2 separate regions of the Homo sapiens genome follow, and region 1 is linked to region 2. Evidence: promoter capture Hi-C in 16 types of primary human blood cells and fetal thymus (Javierre and others, 2016). All regions are on one chromosome and are shown on one strand. The core of a region is centred on a gene start or on the middle of the fragment in contact, and the rest is flanking DNA. Distances in the headings are between cores, read along the strand shown.

Region 1 (7,374 bases), core at 1,851-4,350, 240 kb after region 2:
TCTCTAAATTTGGTCATCACTTTGATGGAATCTAAGACTTAAGCGACCGGACATTTTTCTAGAATGTTATAACTTTGCATCTGACTTCAAGACCTAGCTACTTTGACCATTTCAAAGCTTTGGATTTTCTTTCCCTCATCAGACCTTTCCTTTGGATGCTCTGTATTAGATCTCAAAAGACTCAAATGATTGGTATTGTCTGCATCAGTGTTTCTGTTTAACTTGAAGCTAAACCCATGCTGTTCTTGAAATCTGTATTTTTTCTTGACTTCCTATTTTATTTTTCCATTTCAGGAAGTGATTATTTCATTGGAAACATTAGATCTGTGTTGCCCAAGAAGAGTTTTACCTGAAATTATTCTTTATCTCTCATTTTCATAAGTGTCTCAAATATAAACCAATGGTGCTTGACAATTTGCAAATAAATATAAAGTGACAGAGGAGAAGAACTAAGTAGGAACTTCCAGGGAGATTTGCCTGTGAGCACCTGATTCATCCAACTCTGTTTTATCCCAGGGGAAATATTACATTGGTGCAGAAGTGACTGCGGTTTTTACTATTACTTTTAATGGCGAAAACCACAATTAATTTTGCACCAACCTAACAGGAACAATAAACTGTGTGACAAATAGATTCACTCTAAGATAAAGGAAGAAAATATATGAGAAAAATATCAGGCAGTCCTGGTAGAAGCTAACATCAAAATACTTGGAAACCATAGGAATGGATACATATTTAAAAATTTTATTTTATTTTTAGTTTTAGTTTTTGCTATCACTCCTTTTCAGAAGCAACAATTTTGCCAATTTCTTACATCAGTTTTTTTTTTAATCTAATTAAAAAACGTATTTCCCATGGTGGGAGTTCATATCTTATTGGATGCATTTCTGATTGTTTGAAGCAGTCCATGTTCTGCCCTTCCAAGCACCTGTTCACTGGGCCTGTTTGCTGGGTTATAAAGACTATGAGACTGGACAATTGGACTCACTGATACACAATGTCTGGTTTTGCTAAGGTTTCCCTCTAACTCTTTGTGGGGATAAAAAAGAAATTCACAATTACTAAAAGATACTCTTCAGTGTATAGAAAATACTCCAAGGGGAGGGAAGGATTGATTATATTTAATATTTAACATGCCACCCCTAAAACTTTGCTTGCTCCTACATTGAACTACCCTGACACCTTTAAATGTAAGAACCACAAATTAATGATGAAGAAGAAAAAGAAGCTGATGATCAGGATTAGCACTTACTAAAGGCTTGCCACGTGCCAGGCATTATTCTGAATGCTTTACATGTGTTAAGTCACCTGTTCGCCACTAGAACCCCATATGGAGCAGGTATTATTAGGCTCTCCATTTATGGATGAGGAAACTGAAACTTGGGAGGAAAGTAACATGCCCAACGCCATTCAGCAAAGTAAGTGGTAGACTTGGAATTAGGCAGTCGGAACCTTCAGGAAGTCTGAATAATTGGGAAACGTAGTATTAACTTATTTTAAAATGGTACATTATTTGTGTTTAAATAATATGCTTGCTTGTTTTATCTATTTTTTTCAACTTCCAGACATCTTCTCAGCTGAAGAATATTTAAATGTAAAGCGTTGGGTACAATTATTAATGTGAGGGGAAAATGTGCAATACACTACAGAGTTTTCAAAAGTTGTGGAAACATCAGCCCAAATAAATATTTTTTAAAAAACACATAAATATGAGTTTTGTTTGCATATTCATTTAAAACTACAATTAACTGACATGTCAGCTGCTCTTTTATTATGTGTAGTCCTCCTTTATCTGCAGGAGATATCTTCCAAGACCCCCAGTGGATGCCTCAAACCATGGAATAGTACCAAATTCTATAGTATACTTTGCTCTTCCCCATACATACATATGTATGATAAAATTTAATTTATAAACTAGGCACAGTAATGAGATCAACAGCTTCTTCAACTCTGCTGGAAATGTGACAGCTGCTTCTTCATCAGCAGATAGAGACTCTCCAGTAATTTTTGTATTTTTCGGTACAAGCTTATCTTGAATCTGCACAACCATTCGCTACTTGCAACAAATAACTTAGTGTCACTCATTTTAGGGGATCCCTTGCTGAAGTCTTTGTATAGGCTCGGTGCTTCCTGGTGCCACATGTTTCAGTCAGTTGGAACCCATTTCTGTTGATGTCTTCCACCCAAACATTTTTCTTTCCTTTTGAACTAAGTACTTGTAATGCACTGTGGCCATAACTTTTGTAGTTTGAAGTGCAACAGAAAAGTAGCACGAATTTCTTTTTCCTTCATTACAGTTTCACAGATAGAATACTATAGAGCTCAGCAACCTCAGCATATGATTTTTTTCTTTGCTTATTAAATCGAGAATTTTCACCTTTTTCACTAACAGAAGCACATTACAGCTTCCCTTTTGGCTGTTTGACTTGCTAGCCTCACTAGTCTTGCACTCTCGGGTCATCATTAGGTAAAATAAAGGTTTCTTGAACACAAGCACTGTGATACTTTGACAGTCGACCTGCTCACTGAGGTGGCCGATATGTGATTAATGGGTGGTGAGGGTATACGGGGTAGAAATGCTGTCCTAAAGGCCGGTTCCCCTTTGAGCTGGACACAGTGGAATGGTGAGAGATTTCATCACATCACTCAGGACGGTGCATGATTTAAAACTTATGAATTGTTTATTTCTGAAATTTTTCATTTAATATTTTTGGACTGTGGTTGACCGTAGGTAACTGAAACTGCAGAAAGCGAAGCCGTGGATAATGGGGGGACTACTGTAGCTGTAGTATTTCTAGAAATTCTTTTCATGAAAGGAAATTTCAGTTCACAAAGCTCCTGGGAATATTTATTTTGACTGCAATCAGCATGAATCTGCGAAGTTTAAGGAAACCCAGAGCATCCTTCCTAAGCCATGGTAAAGAGGCAAGAGCCATGGTAAAGGGCAGCACCCCTACACCTATCTTGGCCCGAGGCCTACAGTTGGCGGCTTCCTTTGGAACTTCAGAGTGTCTTTGATGTGCCTTTCAGAATGATGTCTGCTCCATGGGTCCTGATGACTTATGTTTCCCGGGAGGAAGAAAGGCATGGAATGGGCGAGGGGTTGTCATTTTCAGTGCTTCTGAGGCTGTGTTTGTTTGTTTGTTTGTTTGTTTGTTTGTTTTGAGATGGAGTCTCGCTTTGTTGCCCAGGCTGGAGTGCAGTGGTGTGATCTCGGCTCACGGCAAGCTCCGTCTCCCGGGTTCAAGTGATTCTCTTTTCTAAGCCTCCCAAGTAGCTGGGATTACAGGCACACCCCACCATGCCCAGCTAATTTTTGTATTTTTAGTAGAGACAGGGTTTCACCATGTTGGCCAGGATGGTCTCCATCTCTTGACCTCGTGATCTGCCTGCCTTGGCCTCCCAAAGTGCTGGGATGACAGGTGTGAGCCACTGCACCAGGCCAAGGCTATGTTTTTAAGGTGAAGAATTGAAGATGCATTTTAGAAATGAGACAAACTATATTCCTTTCAAGGGCTGTTGCTCCATAGCTGTAATGCCCATAAACAGTACAGCACAGTCCAATCCAAGGTTACGCTTAGATTTGAGTGTATCCTTAGATGACAAAACTTCCCAACATACATTGAATAATCTCCACTAGAAATCTGTGTTATTTTTCCTGTCCGTGCTCTGGATTCTTCAAAGTTCTTAAATATTAATATTGGTTAAAATATTAGTATTTATAGAAACTAGATTTCTGTTTTCTTTTTTTTGAGACTGGGTCTCACTGTGTTGCTCAAGCTGGAGTGCAGTGGTGTGATCATGGCCTACTGCAGCTTCGAACTCCAAGGCTCAGGTGATCACCTGACCTCAGTCTCCCAGGTAGCTGGGATTACAGGCCTTTGCCACCACACCAGGCTAATTTTCTTGTAGAGATGGGGTTTTGCCATGTTGCCCAGGCTGGTCTCGAACTCTGGGGCTCAAGCCGTCTGCATGGCTCGACTGCTCAAAGTACTGGGATTACAAGTATGAGCCAGTGTGCCTGGCCGGTTTCTGTTTTCTTTCTTCTCATTTTAAATCTATTTAATCAGAAGCAGCAGTTGCCATACATAGATCAGAGTAATTAAAAATCTATTCTAGAATAATGTAGTGAGTCATAGACTCTTTACAGGTATCCTGCCCCTATTAAAGCTTCCTTAGATGCATCCTTAATGTTTACTGGGCTAGTGTTTACCTGCCTCCACTCTTTCTTTTGAAAATGTAAGAGACCATTGCAGCTGGATAATGGCTTACATTGTCTGCACTAATTGGACTTGCCTTGTATCTCAGAGACTGAGGACTTTAATATTTTTTTCCAAACACTTAAAAGTGACTAGCAAATAACCACTTGAGCTTCATGTTTAATAGATAATCAGAACTCATGCGGCATAGCTAAGGTTTTCTGGATGAAAAGTAAATGCTGTTGGAAAAAAAAAATACAGATGATTAGTTTCAATCCAAGATCACACCCTTGGAAGATGAGAGAAAGAATGAAAAGTACCTGAAATTTTGTTGGTAACAGAGGAGGCATCCTCAAACTATGGCCCTGAGGCCAAATCTGACCCACAGCCTGTTTCTGTAAATAAAGTTTAGTGGTCACAGCCATTCCCATTTGTCATGTATAGTACAAGGCCGCTTTCCCATGACAGCAACAGAATTGAGAGGTTAGGGTAGAGAGCATATGGTCTGCAATGCCAACAGTATTTACTATCGGCACCTTATTATAGTTGAAATATGCCGACCCCTTGGTTAGAGCATTAGGAATAGCATATTATTATTCAGAAGGTTTAGGCATTTAAAAAGATTTAAAGTAAATGAATATAAATACTTTTAATTTTATTTCATGGCAAAACTTATTAATAGCTAACTTGCCCCACATAGATATAGCTGATGTCAGAGACCAACCGCTGTGGGAGCCAGTGTGTCCGTTTCCCCTCATATTTTCTGCTTAGTGACCAAAAGCCCAGCAGAAAAGAGATGAAACAGCAGCTGTAATGGTTAATTTTGTTTGTACTTGGCTAGGCCACGGTACCCAGGTATTTGGTGAAACACCAGTCTGGATGTCGCTGGGAAGGTATTCTTTAGATAAGAATAACGTTTACATTGGTATTAATAGATTCAGAGCAAAGCAGATTACCCTTTCCAATGGGGATTGGCCTCATCAATCAAATCAGTTGAAAGCCTTAAAAGAAAATAGACTTAAAAGAAAATAGCCTTAAAAGACAAAGAAAATAGAGCTCCTGGGAGGAAGAAGGAATTCTGCCTGGAGAGTGTCTTTGCATCAGTTCTTCCCTGGGACCCCGGCCTGTGCCAGCTCTGCAATTTTGGACTCGCCATCCTCCGCAGTCCTGTGAAGCCAATTTCTTTTCTTTTCTTTTCTTTTTTTTTTTTTTTTTTTTGAGACAGAGTCTCAGTCTGTCACCCAGGCTGGAGTGCAGTGGCACGATCTCTGCTCACTGCACCTTCCGCCTCCTGTGGTCAAGCAATTCTTGCGCCTCAGCCTCCTAAGTAGCTGGGATTACAGGTGTGCACTACCACACCTGACTAATTTTTGTGTTTTTAGTAGAGACGGGGTTTCACCATTTTGGCCAGCCTGGTCTTGAACTCCTGACCTCAGGTGATCCACCTGCCTAGGCTTCCCAAAGTGCTGGGATTACAGACATGAGCCATCACACCCCTCGGCCTGACCAATTTCTTAAATCTCTATCTCTCTCTCTCTCTCCGTGTGTGTGTGTGTGTGTGTGTGTGTGTGTATCTTATCATCTTATGGTTCTGTTTCTTTGGAGACCGAAATAGAGCAGGCTTCATTTTAAGTTAAACTTCTTATTCTGAGATAATTGGAGATTTACAAGTAGTTGTAAGAAATACTACAGGGCCATCCAGTGTATCCTTTGCATAATTTCTTCCAATGGTAATATTTTACAAAACCCCTCTCAGTCACTAATATGTTCCCCATCTCTACAATTTTATCATTTCAAGAATGTTATACAAATGGAATGACACAGTATGTAGCCCAGGATTATGGTTTTCATGCAGCGTAGCCACCTGAGGGCGTCATCCAGGTTACTGTGTGTATCAGCAGTTCATTTTTAAAAATTGCTGAGTAGTGTTACATGGTATGGATGAGCCATACTTTTTTTTTAGCCACTCAGCTATTGAAGAAGATCTGTGTTGATGGTAGTTTTGGCTATTACTGATAAAGTTGCTATGAACATTTGTGTATTTCATATGCACATGTTCATAGTGTATGAAATATGCAAATGTTTTTGTGTGTTTGAACATAAATGTCCTTTTCTCATTTAAAAGCACAAGAGAGCAATTGCTGGTCACATGATAGTCACCTGTTTAGTTTTATAAGAAAGTGTCAAACTGTTTTCCGTGACCTCACTAGTGTTTGCTGTCGTCACTGTTTTTGATTTTACCTGTTTTGATAGGTACGTGGTGGTATCTCATTAGCATTAGTCATTTGCGTCGTTGGATAGTGATGTTGCACACATCTTTTCATGTGCTTATTTGCTGTCTGTATATCCTTTGTGGTGAAATGTCTGTTTATATATTTTGCCCATCTTATACCCGGATAGTTTGTGGGTTTTTTTTTTTTTTTTCCTGATGAGGGTTTGTTTTGTTGTGTTTTGTTCAGCTTTTTATTGAACATATTACATAAAAGATTTAGTCAAAAAGACCAAGGCCCATGTCATCGTGGGGCTCCTCAGATTCTCTTTTCTTTGCCCCCTCTTTTTTTCTGAGTGAGGACAGCAGGGTGGAGGGATAGGGTCTCCTGCTGGGGCATCGCTGGTTGTGAGGCAGGTCCCCTAGGCTCTACACAGCAGAGGGGGCTCCTGAGGCTGACATTGGCTAGGCCAGAAAGGTTCACCATTGACACCAGCTGCTTTAATGAGGGTTTTGATTTTCATTCTGTGACTATCACCTCACTGTCCTGCAGAATGAGTGGATGCAGGTGAGCTCAGAGATTGAGGCTGCGTTATGGGTGGGGGCTGGGGAAGTGGCTGCTGGGCGCAGTCTTAGTCACTGGATAAAGAGAAGGCCATACCCCAACAGGTCCTGAGCTTCCTCAGAAGGACCAAATGCCTTAGCAGCAACTGAGGAAAAGGTGCTGTTGAGTTTTGAGAGTTCCTTATGTATTCTAGGTCTCAGTCTTTTGTTGAGTCTGTGGCTTGCAAATGTTTCCTCCCTGCCTGTGGCTTGTATTTTTAGCCTCTTTCCACAGAGCACAAGTTTTAGTTTTGATTAGGTCCAATTTTTGAGTTTTTCCTTTTACGAGAAGGAAAATGGCCATTCCAGATCTTCTGGCAATGGCTTGCGTCTCATCCTTTTAGTGTTACTGCTGTCTTCTAG
Region 2 (6,935 bases), core at 2,740-5,239:
CTGTGTATACACTATGTAGCAGATTCAAGAGTCCAGAGCATGCTGTTACCCAAATATGCTAAATGGCCACATCCTATCCTCTCAGACTACAGTGTTCTGAGCATGGGTTTTGGGTCATGCCTCCGGGTTCACTTCCTGGTTTTGTTACTTGTAAGCTCTGGGGCAAGTTTCTTCACTTTCTTAGCTTCATTTTCCTCAGTTATAAAATCAAGGTCATTCCTGATAGTTCCTACCTTACACAACTGTGGTGATTGCATAAAATAACTCACATCAGCTGGGCGCGATGGCTCACGCCTGTAATCCCAACACTTTGGGAGGCCGAGGTAGGTGGATCACCTGAGGTCAGGAGTTTGAGACCAGCCTGGCCAACATGGCAAAACCCTGTCTCTACTAAAAAAGCAAAAATTAGCTGGGCATGGTGGTGTACTCCTGCAATCCCAGCTACTTGGGAGGTTGAGGCGTGAGAATCACTTAAACCCAGGAGGCTGAGGTTGCAGTGTGCCGAGACGGCACCACTGCACTCCAGCCTGGATGACAGAGTGAGAGTTTGTCTCAAAACAAACAAACAAACAAACAAACAAAAACCAAACAAAAAAACCCCCAACTCACATCACTACGCTGACATATACAGTAAGCTTGAAAGTTAGGTATTTTATAGCATTATTTCTCCCAACAGAATGTATTGCCAAATTCATAGCTAAAGTGAGACAAGTCAGAATACTAGGATCTTAGATCTATTCAGGAAAAATCTACTTCACAATGACATAACTATAAGCTCTTTTCATTGAAAGTAATGGCAAAACCTGCAATTACTCTTGCACCAACCTAATATAAATACCCCTGTTTTGGCAACCAAATCTAAACTGGCTTTGGATCAAAGGTCACATATTACACAATTTCATGTCATACTTCATCCATTTATTCAACAATTTCATGTCACACTTCATCAATTCACTCAACAACTGTGTATGGTGCACACTCCACACAAGGCATGGTTCATGGTTTTTGGTATTGAGGTTTCAAAGGTTGGATAGGAGAGAGATGATCTCTGCCTTGAACTTCTCCAGTCTGGGACACAGGAACTAGACCAGGTGAAACACCAGCCGGGAAGATGCAGAGGGAGCATCCTGGAAACTGGCAGCCTTGGCTACTTTGAAGGTTCAAATTATTTTTCCTTTTCCTGAATTAGAATAATGTCTATTCTCTCCATATTGCCCTCTGTGCCCACAGGTACTACTCCTTCTTTTGGGGCTTTTCCACATCTAAAACCTGACGTATGCTAAATTCCAAGTTCTTTCCTTTCTCAGCTGCTGTGGTGACACCTGGAATCCTGGCAAGAGGGGGATGTTGTTGCATTGGGAGGAATCACAAAACGCCTGGTCTTGTCCAGCCCTTGGACTCCCCCAGGCAGAGGTGAGAGTTGAGTGGAGAGGTAGGGGACTCCTAATTCAAGGTTGGTTGTGGGTATTCTTAGCAAACAATTACACTTTACTAGAATATGAAGTGGCAAAGTGGGGAAACACACAAGGCTAAGCTTACTAAGCTTACTAATGATTTGCAGGGGAATCTGTGACTCCCCACTAACATGGAAAGTAAAAATGTACATTTTTGTGGAAAGAGTCATTTGACAAATATTTTAGCATTTGCTAGTACGAGGCACCATTCTAGGAACTGGGAATAATACATCAGTAAACCAAACTGTCAAAGTGTCCTGACCTCCTTGAGTTTTTATTTTACACAGAGATGTGGATCACAGGTTTATTTGACAAAAAGGTCTGGGACCCAAACAATGCTTTGGAATCAAGATACTAAACCTATGGTGCTCAGCGTTGTGTACCAACAACACATAAGGGGAACCTTAAAAGTTCAAATGACTTAGCCCTTCCTTGACATTCTGATTGGCTGGATCTGTGCTCGGGTTTGATAATTTATGTTTTGAAGTGCTGTTCATATTGACCTAGATTGCTTCTGAAAAAAAGCTGGAGACAAAGTTCCTCTCACCAAGCAAAGCCATGGAAAATTGGTCACCTCCTTTTTTCAGAAACACAACAATGCAATGGGATTTTCAGTTCTGGATATCCCAAGAGAGAAGCATCAACATCCCTCCTTACTTTTATTAGCTTAGAATAGCACCCTACAATGCTTTAAAAGGATGTTTAAACGTATGCCTAAACCAGGTATGGTGGCTCACATCTATAACCCCAGCACTTTGGGAAGCTGAGTCAGGAGGTTGGCTTGAGCCCAGGAGTTTGAGACCAGCCTGGGCAATCAACATAGGGAGACCCCCCCATGTCTACAAAAAATCAAAAAAATAAAACTAGCTGGGCATGGTGGCATGTGCCTATAATTCCAGATACTCAGGAGGCTGAGGTGGTAGGATTGCTTGAGTCCAGAAGTTCGAGGTTACAATCAGCTAGTCGAGCTACTGCACTCCAGCTTGGGGACAAAGCAAGACCACGTTTCTAAAAACACCACCACCACCATCAAAAAACAAACACACAAAGTATGCCCATATTTTCTAAGTTCTAGAAAGGAGAGGATAAATTATCATACTTACTAACTTGAATCCCCAAATGATTTCCCAATTTTCTTCCCAAATAGTAATACTACTATTAAGAATATAATGAGTTTTTATTATTTGCCACTTTATAAGTGTTTTCCCACGTAATACTTCCAAGAACCCTGTGAGGTCTTGTTCTACTTATTTGATCAGCGAGAAACGGAGGCGCGGAGGTCACCAAGCTTGCTCAAGGTCACACAAGGGTGGACCCCTGAGCCTACCTCTCAACCTCGACTGCTGTGTCCATCCTTTCTTCATCGTTTCAACGTACCCCCCTCATTTCTTGGAATCTCTCCTGTGACCAAAGATGAACAAAATTATACATCACTAAAGAGGAAAACAAACTGCTGGGGAGACTACTCAGCAGCCTGATTTGAGGAGTATTTGGGAAGGGCAGCCTTCCTGTGGTATGGGAGTCTTTCTGTCCGCCACCTCGCCGGGACAGAAGTCACTCCATCCGCACCCCCGGGCGACCTCCGGAGGCCGCAGCTACCCCCGGGCTGCGAATTCCGAGTTCTCTCACGCCCCCGCGGGCGCCAGGACGCAGGGCATGTCCGCGCCCGGCGGGGATCCTTATCTCCTGGCCCCGGAGTAGGTCCGCAGGCTTCTCGGCCCTGCCAGGAACTTGAGGCCGGGGCAGATGATTGACTGGGTCCAGCAGTCTCTGCTGGCAGGGCAGTTGAAAAGCTAGAGGGATCTCTTTTTTGGTTGAATACCTGAACCCACACTAGCACCATGGCTTCTCTCTCTTGCCTGTAGTTTCCCGTGTCCTAAAAAGTTGGTCCCAAAGTTTAAGGATGCGGGTGTGTGTAAGAGCGCGTGTGACCCGCACAGGGATCCCAGTTGGGGAACCGGAGGATCCCACCGTCCCCCTCCCCCGGGTCGCAGAGACCCTGGCAGACCCCGCGCCAGGACCCGAACCCGCAAGCGCAGGGCAGGCAGGGAGGCGGCGAGCGCCCCGGGGCGGGTCTCGGGGGTTTCAGTGGGACCTGCGGCAAGGGGGGCGGCGAACCAGCCGGGCTGGGTGACCGACAGCCTGGCCAGCCACTGGCCGAGGGCGGTTAGGAGGCTTAGGGCCGGCGCGAGTGCGTGCGCGTGTGCGTGAGTGTGAGCGCCAGGGTGAGTGTGGCAGCCTCCCCAACCCCCACCTGTTTGAAATGGTTTTCAAATGCCAAAGCCAGATTGCCCGGGTTTCAAAAGTTGCAAACAGTTGGAGTAAAACACGTGTGCGGCCCTCCAGCCCCAAAGGAATCCGCGGAGTCCAGGGCACTGAAAGAAAAGGAGAGAGGATAGGGGTTCAGGAAGGGTTGGGGGGGAGTTGCCTTCTCCCGGCAGGTCGGTTTTAGGACCCATCGGGAAGCACGTTGGAATCTCTCCCTTCGGGGAGGAGGGGAGGGGTGGGCCGGCCGGCTGGCGGCCGCGGGGCGCATGCGCGCGCGTCTCCTGTCGCCGGCCGCTGCGCTCCGCGGCGCGGAATAGAATGAACTGTAACAAAACAAGCCGAGCCTTTGTATCTGCTTAAAGGGGCCGCGAGCACTTACCTCCCGCCCTGCTCCCCGCCGCCCCGCCACCGCGTCTTCAGGGCTCCCGGCAACTGGCTGGAAGGGCTTCCCTCACCCTCAGTAACAGCCTGCCAGCGAGGAGAGGCGAGCCGGGCGGGAGGCAAAGAGGAGGCACCGCATTTGTAAAAGGCAAGAGAGAAAGGAAGGAAGGAAAAAAAAATAACCCGAGCGGCGCAGAGTGGACTCTGGTCCGGGAGAGCACGGGCGGGCGCCGGAACGTGGACCCAGAGGCACCGGAATGCAAACAAAGCTCGCGGGCGCCTGTGCGGGGCTCGCGGGGAAGCCCAGAAAGTTTGTTTTATGATGGCTTGAGTGCGCGAGCGTGTGCAGGGGAGCGAGGCTGCCAAGTTTCTCTCTCCTGTTTTGTGATTTGGGGAGAGATGTTTCTCCCATGAACAAGCGGAGGCTTGGGGGCTCGTGCTGTGGGGGGCACCTGTCTCTCGTTTTATTTTTTTGGAGGAGGGGTGTAACTCATCATGTCCAAAGTGATCCAGAAGAAGAACCACTGGACTAGCAGGGTTCACGAATGCACCGTGAAGCGGGGACCCCAGGGCGAGCTGGGGGTGACGGTGCTGGGAGGCGCGGAGCACGGGGAGTTTCCGTACGTCGGAGCGGTGGCGGCGGTCGAGGCAGCGGGGCTTCCCGGCGGCGGCGAGGGCCCGAGGCTGGGCGAAGGGGAGCTGCTTCTGGAGGTGCAGGGGGTCCGGGTGTCCGGCTTGCCCCGCTATGACGTGCTGGGGGTCATCGACAGCTGCAAGGAGGCCGTCACCTTCAAGGCCGTCAGACAAGGTAAGGCAGGGCGCGCCTTTGGGGGGCGCCCCGAGAAAAGGAGGGTGGTCTGTGGGCTGCCCCTTATTCTCGATTTCCTGCTTCCCTCCTCGGAGCGCAGTGAAGAGAAGTTGAGGCCGTGCGCCCTGTGGTGGCGGTGAAATACACAAAGTTGTTGCGAGGTTGAGGGTTGTTTGCCCACCTGCGTTTCGAAGAGGGGGCTGGGTTTGCGCAAGGTAGCGGGGGGACGTTTCTCAGGCCTGGCTGGCCAACCTGTTATCTCCGCCACTAAGTGCAGCGCAGTCTCGCCTGCACCCGAGAGAGAGTTGGGGAACTGAGTCAGGGGCATGGTGGACGCTGTCCTGGCTCCTTGGGGGAGGGATGCAGCTGGCGTTCTTTGGCCACGAGTCAGTTTCCATACCTGCTGAGTGGGTATACAGAAAGAGAGGGTCTGTAGTTTATTGGACCTCCCCCATCAGAAAATCTGCTTCACCCCGCGACCCCTCCAGGTGAGCTAGGACACCACTGCCTGGCGGTTCCTGAGCCCGCCGCCAGAAGAGCCTGCATTCACCCCTCAGCCGGATGACGCATGTGTCTCCACCGTGTGGCTCAGCCATACACTTGGGAGGGGGAGAGGGGGAAGGGGTGCTTGCTTTTAGCTCGAATCGGGTCCAAGTTTACCCTCCCACCACCACCATCATCGTCATTATTGATGATGAAAATGAAGCTACTATTCATTGTTGGTTTACTACATGCCCGGCTCTGTGTAAAATACTTTACTTGCACTATCTCACTCCGATTCACAACAGTTCTAAGAACGAGTTGTTCTTATTTATATACCCCAAATTAGAGATAAGGAAACTGGGATTGATACTGGTTAAGTGACTTGCTCAAGGTCACACAGTTGCCAAAAGCGAGGGTTTGAGCCCTTGCTGCAGAGCCTTAAGTATGGAGGAGGAAGGAGTGGGGGGATGACCCTACCGCACTGAAGGGGCTGATTCCTGAGGAGGGAGTGGAAGCAAATTCCTCTCTCAGAAATCTGTAGAGGCCTTTTAAAAGATGCATTTGCTGGCTGCTGGTGATGTAGGTCCCTTACATCTCACTTTGGTACAGACAAGGGGCTGTCCTCATGTCAACCCAATGGAGACCAGCTGAGGCCCTTAAAGGGCTCCCTTGTGCAAGCAAGTGCCATGACGCAGGTTCTCCCCAGTGAAAGCACCGAAGGAAGTCGTGAAGTTGAACATGGTGAAAAGTTCCCATGTGTTTCCATAAGGACAGGCAGCAGCTGGAGGAATGTGTCAAAGGAAGGGCTGGGCCTAGCTGGTCCTCTCTTGGAAACAGGCGTGCTCCAGATGAAATGGAGGAGGGGGCGGCCGACTCGCCTGGCCTTTTAGCAGCTTTGGGAGCTGAGGAGCTGACACTTAGCTATGGAAAGCTCCTTGTATTTATGACTTCATTCTCCACTGGGATACCTCCTCCAAGAAGCCCTCCAGAATCCTGCTAGGATGCACAAATTCTTCCTCCTTTGGGCTCCTTTAATGTCTACTTTGTGGCTTTTTTACTTACTCTGAACTCTGAGTTAGGTCCTCATTTCCATACAAGGTAGTGAGCTCATTAAAGGGAGAGATTGTGCCTCATTCCTGGCATACCTCTCCAGGTTTTGCTTGAGGTTCAAAACCTTTCCTGGCCTGACAATGCGTCTTCCTCACACTGGCTTTCCTGTGGGTATTACATAAGCTAACACGTGGAAAGTGCACCCAACAGTGCCTGTACATAGTAAGTGCTCCATAAAGATTAGCTATTTATGTTTGAATTGATTTTAGCAGCTATTTATTTCTGAAACTAGTTTTTAGTGTCAGGAACCTGGATAATTATGACTTGATAGGGCTGTAGAGAAAATACTGTGTGAAGGCATAGGATGGGAGCAGCTGCAGGTCTCAGTTCAGGACCATTTTGGAGAAAGGGTGGAGGAAGGACAGGCAAGGGTACCTGCCCAACTAGGGGGATGCCTCGCAGTGTCTAACGGGTCCTGAATAGGGGCTGGC

What was found. Contacts are between HindIII fragments. The CHiCAGO score rates a contact against its expected background, and 5 or more counts as called.
Region 1: a fragment that was not itself captured here is called in contact with the fragment with the promoter of MAGI1 in region 2 in 1 of 17 cell types (endothelial precursors); the score reaches 8.4 in endothelial precursors.

The regions. Positions count from the first base shown.
Region 1 is chr3:65,794,094-65,801,467 of GRCh38, reverse strand. All of the region lies in intron 1 of MAGI1 (membrane associated guanylate kinase, WW and PDZ domain containing 1), which reads left to right. Among named protein-coding and RNA genes, the nearest start is that of MAGI1-AS1, 96 kb to the left of the region's middle. The HindIII fragment of the contact is 2,144 bases long and covers 2,029-4,172 here.
Region 2 is chr3:66,035,972-66,042,906 of GRCh38, reverse strand. It overlaps MAGI1 (membrane associated guanylate kinase, WW and PDZ domain containing 1), which reads left to right and starts at 3,989. Exons shown (of 23, transcript NM_001033057.2): 1 at 3,989-4,911. The coding sequence starts at 4,599. LOC105377128 (a long non-coding RNA gene) reads right to left here and starts at 3,954. Exons shown (of 2, transcript XR_001740440.2): 1 at 3,709-3,954; 2 at 2,613-2,855. RefSeq lists a silencer at 3,902-4,021 and enhancers at 4,974-5,801, 5,802-6,629, 6,630-6,935. The HindIII fragment of the contact is 5,984 bases long and covers 2,745-6,935 here.